Regions from separate parts of the Homo sapiens genome. Here region 2 is linked to region 1. The links are contacts of gene promoters, found by promoter capture Hi-C in blood cells and fetal thymus (Javierre and others, 2016). All regions are on one chromosome and are shown on one strand. The core of a region is centred on a gene start or on the middle of the fragment in contact, and the rest is flanking DNA. Distances in the headings are between cores, read along the strand shown. Region 1 overlaps C2orf42 (chromosome 2 open reading frame 42). Region 2 holds the start of ASPRV1 (aspartic peptidase retroviral like 1).

Region 1 (2,818 bases), core at 225-2,724:
TGCACCCTGAGTTGCTTCAGTGTCTCCCTAAATGTCATCCATTCCAGGCTAAAAACTGCCTCTGTGCCATGTGCATTTAAAGGAGTTCCTCAAGTGTTTTTAATGCCAACACAGCCCTTTTCTAGGGTTCACATGTATTTACTTTTTTTAAGAGGCAAGGTCGCTAGGAGTGGTGGCTCACGCCTGTAATCCCAGAACTTTGGGAGGCTGAGGTAGGCGGATCACCTGAGGTCGGGAGTTTGAGACCAGCCTGACCAACATGGAGAAACCTCATCTCTACTAAAAATACAAAATTAGCCAGGCGTGGTGGCAGACGCCTGTAATCCCAGCTACTCAGAAGGCTGAGGCAGGAGAATCGCTTGAACCTGGGAGGTGGAGGTTGAGGTGAGCCAAGATCACATGATTGCACTCCAGACTGGGCCACAAGAGTGAAAGTCCGTGTCAAAAAAAAAAAAAAAAAAAGAGTCAAGGTCTCACTTGGTTGCCCCTGCTGGAGTACAGTGGCACAATCATGGCTCACTGTAGCCTCCAACTCCCAGGCTCAAGTGATCCTCTTGCTTCAGCTTTCTTAGTGGTTGGGACTATAGGCACACACCACCAGGCCTCACTTTTTCTTTTTTTCTTTTTTTTTGGAGATGGAGTCTAGCTCTGTCACCCAGGCTAGAATGCAGTGGCACGATCTCAGTTCACTGCAACCTCCGCCTCCCAGGTTCAAGTGATTCTCCTGCCTCAGCCTCCCGAGTAGCTGGGATTACAGGAGCAAGCCACCACGCCCGGCTAATTTTTGTATTCTAGTAGAGACGGGTTTTCACCATGTTGGCGAAGCTGGTCTCAAACCCCTGACCTCAGGTGATCTGCCCACCTTGGCCTCCCAAAGTGCTGGGATTACAGGCATGAGCCACCTCGCCAGCCTCTTTTGCTTTCTTTCTTTCTTTCTTTTTATTTTTTTAAGAGTAGGGGCCTTTGCTGGCCTGGCGCACTGGCTCACGCCTGTAATCCCAGCACTTTGGGAAGCCAAGGAGGGTGGATCACCTGAGGTCAGGAGCTTGGGACCAGCCTGGTCAACATGGTGAAAGCCTGTCTCTACTAAAAATACAAATTAGCTGGGCAGGATGGTGCGCTTGTAATCCCAGCTACTCGGGAGGCTGAGGTGGGAGAATTGCTTGAACCTGGGAGGCAGAGGCTGCAGTGAGCCAAGATTGTGCCCTGCATTCCAGCCTAGACAACAGAGTGAGACTCTGTCTCAAACAAAAAAAAAATAGTAGGGGCCTCGCTGTGTTGCCTAGGCTGGTCTTGAACTCCTGGCCTCAAGCAATCCTTCATCTCAGCCTCCTAAATCGCTGGTATTATAGCCACCATGCCTGGCTCACATGTAAATTCTGTAGCTATCAAACAACTTATTTTTTTTTCCTGAACAGAAGAATGCCTTGCAATTAAGCTACTCTTAATGTATCAAATCACATTATGCTGAATTTTCTACTTTTTTGGAGACGAAGTCTCGATCTTGTCCCCCAGGCTGGAGTGCAATGGCGCAACCTCAGCTCACTGCAACCTCCGCCTCCCGGGTTCAAGCGATTCTCCTGCCTCAGCCTCCCAAGTAGCTGGGATTACAGGTGCCTGCCACCATGCCTGGATAATTTTTGTATTTTTAGTTGTGACGGGGTTTCACCATGTTGGCCAGGCTGGTCTCAAACTCCTGACCTCAGGTGATCCACCTGCCTTAGCCTCCCAAAGTGCTGAGATTACAGGTGTGAGCCACCGTGCGCGGCCTGAATTTTCTACATAATTCTATTACTGTAGGAAAAAAAACTCCATCTCAGATTTTCAGGATCTACTTGAAAAACATACATACATATATATTTTTTGAGACAGCGTCTTGCTCTGTCGCCCAGGCTGGAGTGCAGTGGTGCGATCTCGGCTCACTGCAAGCTCCGCCTCCCGGGTTCACACCATTCTCCTGACTCAGCCTCCCGAGTAGCTGGGACTACAGGAGCCTGCCACCATGCCCGGCTAATTTTTTTGTATTTTTAGTAGAGACGGGGTTTCACTGTGTTAGCCAGGATGGTCTCGATCTCCTGACCTCGTGATCCACCCGCCTCGGCCTCCCAAAGTGCTGTGATTACAGGCGTGAGCCACCGCACCCAGCCCGAAAAACATTTTAAAATGTGTAAGACAGGCACAGGGGCTCACGCCTGTAATCCATGCACTTTGGGAAGCCAAGGTGGGCGGATCACTTGAGATCAGGAGCTTGAGACCAGCCTGGCCAACATGGCAAAACCCTGTCTCTACTAAAAATACAAAAATTAGCCAGGCATGATGGTGCGTGCCTATAGTCCCAGCTACTCAGGAGGTTGAGGCATGAGAACTGCTTGAACCTGGGAGGTGGAGGTTACAGTGAGCCGAGATCGTGCCACTGCACTGCAGCCTGGGCAACAGAGCAAGAGACTCTGTCTCCAAAAAATAAAAATAAAAACATAAAATGTCTAGTGTGGCTGGAAGAGGCAGATTACACCTGTAATCACAGTACTTTGGGAGGCCAAGATGGGAGGACTGCTTGAACCCAGGAATTTGAGACCAGCCTGGGCAACATAGCAAGACCCTATCTTAAATTTTTTTTTTTTTTTAATTAATAGGGTGGGCCTGGTGGCTCATGCCTGTAATCCCAGCACTTTGGGAGACTGCGGCAGACAGATTGCTCGAGTCCAGGAATTTGAGACCAGCCTGGGCAACATGGGGAAACCCCATCTCTACAAAAATTAGCTGGGCATGGTGGCATATGCCTGTAGTCCAAGCTACTCAGGAGGCTGAGGTGGGAGGA
Region 2 (2,818 bases), core at 131-2,630, 200 kb before region 1:
GCAGCTAGGACCCAGCCCAACTAAGACAGGCTTTGAGGACCTGAGAGTGACCAAGCCATACCTCAGGGAATCTGAAGGGGTCCCACAGTTCTTTCAAAGACAAGCATTTCTAGCTTCCTTGGGAGCTCTTCCAGCCTTTGAGTCTTTGTCATCAACAGCAGCTTGATGACCATGGGGACCCTGTCCCTCTAAGCCAGCCTGCTCTCCCTCACCTGTGCCTGTTCAGTGGAAGCCTCCCCTACCAGGGGCAGATTAAGGCCCCTGCAGAGGGAGGCAAAGGGGAGAGAAGAGCAAGAGTTGATAAGCAGACTGGCCAAGCCCAGTGACCCCCATGAGGATATGCAACCCCCCCCACAGCGGTGGGTCTTCCCACCAATATTTAGGAGGTTAAAGAAAAGGTGGCTTCTCAGTGGGATAGCTCCTGCCGCCCTTCTTCTGAGGAGGGGTCCTCCTCTATGAGCTCCAGGTCAAACTCATCTTCCAGGGACCCTCCCACAGGCAGAAGGCGAAACTTCTTCCCTTTCAGGGTGCATGTGCGGTGCTCAAAGTCCAGGATAGCATTGTGGTCCTGGAGCACATCAGTGCCAATGATGGCTTCCTCGGCACTCGCATTGGCCACTAGGAACTGTGCCTTCAGCTTCAGCTTGCCTAGGGACACCGCTGTATCCCAGACACCCAGGATCTTCATTTCAGCACCATTGGCCACCTTTACCACATTCTCAAAGGGCTGCAGGGTGTCCAGATCGCCATCAGTGACCTCCTCCCACAAGTTTGGGTGGACCACAGAGACCTGGGCCCCAGAGTCCACCAGGAACCTCACGGGCACTTTGCCAATCTTCCCCTTGAGATAGTAGCCCTTACCCATGCTGTTGGCAAAGACGATCTCTTTGGGCAGGTGGCTGGGGGCAGCCCCAGGGACCCCAAAGGCCTTCAGGAGGGCCTCTTTCACAGTCCCATAGTCTCCCTGGTCCTGGGGACTGAGCCTATTGTAGACACCCAGGGCCTCTCCTCTGAGGGACTCTTTCAGGAACCTTAGCTTGGTGATATGGTCCCAATGGTTGAGGTCATTGATGACTTCAAAGCTGTGCAGCCAGAGGTTTGGGACGACATTGGCCCCATCAAAAGGTTCCGGGACGAAGGCATGCTGCCGGCGGCCTTCCTCACTCCTGGCTCCGCTCCCGGCCATCCTGCTGCTCTCCTCTGGAACCTCAGCAGCAACCCACGCCAAGAAGAGAAACCCACAGAGCAGTGTCGGCGCAATCACGCTGGAAAACGGGGCCTCTCGAAGCAGAGTGGGGATGACTTGCCCGGCCTTGGGCAAGCAGGAGGGAGCAGGCGCGGTCGGCTGGCTGACTGCTGGGGCAGAGGCAGGCAGTGCTGTGGCCTGTTCACTCTGCAGAGCCTTTTTGATGCCTAGGCTGGCCCCTGGGCTCCCCATTCTCCTTTGTTCTGGAAGCTCCGCCCCTCCTCACCCCGCCCTCCTGCCAGCATCCGGCCGGACTAGCAGGATGGGTGCCTCACCCTCTGCATCCATCCTTGGACCAACACCAGCCAGCCCACATCCCAAGAAAGGCCAGCCTCTGTTGAAGGGGGACTACCCTGTACCCTCCCTGGCCTGTGTTCCAGAATAACAGATGAGGACACGGAGGATGTGATGACATTCAGGTATTTGTCATCAGCCAGTGAAGGAAGGGGAGGCAGGGACCAGACGCCCATCAGCTCAGAGACCGGGGAAGCCGCCATTGGCCTCCCCAACAAGTGACTACTTTGAGTGGTCAAAGGAAAACAGTTTACATGTACTGAGCTCCTACCACATGCCAGGCACTGGGAAGTGTCTCACACACATTCTAAAGCAGGTATGGGATCCTATGGGATTTCCTGGAGAGGGAGGCAGAGGAGGGTTCCAGCATAAAGAATGCACAGAAATGGTCTTTTTTAAGTGAGTGAGGACACACACACACACACACACACACACACACACGTGCACAATCATCTTACATGGACTCAACTGCTGCAGTAATTTTCCTTCATTGATCACCCCTGATTCAGAGGCAGAGGGGTGGCCAAGCAACTCTGGGTAGGCCCCATACTGCACTCCATGAGCATTGTCTCCACCCTATCCACCCCTCTCCATTTCCAGGAACTGTTCCAGGGCCCCTTCCCCAGGCACTGCAGCACTTCCTCTCCCACTCCCCAAGCTGGTCATTTGTGGAAAGATCACGGGAAATTTCACTCCCTTTTCATTCTGAGAGGGAAAATGTCCACTATGTTGGTGATGCCAGTGGTGAGGACCTGGAGGGCTCTGGCTCTGTGCCCCTCGCTGCAGGGGTAAAGGGTAGCACGGGAGGACATCCAGTCGTCTACAGAGGACATCTGTGAGTCCAAGGGCTGGAGGCCTGACTTGGGGCTGTGCAGGGGCTGTTGAAGGGATCCACTTTTATGTCCCCATTCAAAGGTCACTCCATGGAGCCTTCTGCCTGTCCCTAGAAAGGGCACCCACTCCTCGTTGAGCGTGTTTTACGGTGTGATCTGGTGGTTTGTTCACAAGTCTGCCTCTTGCTATGAACCAGAGTCTGGGGCTCACAAACCTGGCATTTGTGATTGTCTCCAGCCCCCAGAACAACTTCCTCTGGGACCCAGGGGCTCTTTGCTGGGCTCCAGGCCTAGCTGTGTGCTGTCACCAAACAGGAGTGATTAAGGATGGGAGAGGAGGAAGACTCGATGGCACACCTGTGGCTCTGGGGCTGTTTTTCCTGGCCAAGAGCCTGTCCCTCTTCAGCTCCCTATGCCATGCATCACCCAGTGCCTGGCGGAATCC

What was found. The method cuts DNA at HindIII sites, captures the fragments that hold promoters and counts their contacts. A CHiCAGO score of 5 or more calls a contact.
Region 2: a contact is called between the fragment with the promoter of ASPRV1 here and a fragment that was not itself captured in region 1, in 6 of 17 cell types (total CD8 T cells, naive CD8 T cells, total CD4 T cells and 3 more). The highest score is 9.7, in total CD8 T cells.

The regions. Positions count from the first base shown.
Region 1 is chr2:70,161,398-70,164,215 of GRCh38, forward strand. All of the region lies in intron 8 of C2orf42 (chromosome 2 open reading frame 42), which reads right to left. Among named protein-coding and RNA genes, the nearest start is that of C2orf42, 28 kb to the right of the region's middle. The HindIII fragment of the contact is 4,638 bases long and covers 1-2,818 here.
Region 2 is chr2:69,960,251-69,963,068 of GRCh38, forward strand. It overlaps ASPRV1 (aspartic peptidase retroviral like 1), which reads right to left and starts at 1,381. Exons shown (of 1, transcript NM_152792.4): 1 at 1-1,381. The coding sequence starts at 1,186. The coding sequence ends at 407. PCBP1-AS1 (PCBP1 antisense RNA 1) reads right to left here. Exons shown (of 11, transcript NR_033872.1): 11 at 2,013-2,818. RefSeq lists a silencer at 1,267-1,561. The HindIII fragment of the contact is 12,271 bases long and covers 1-2,818 here.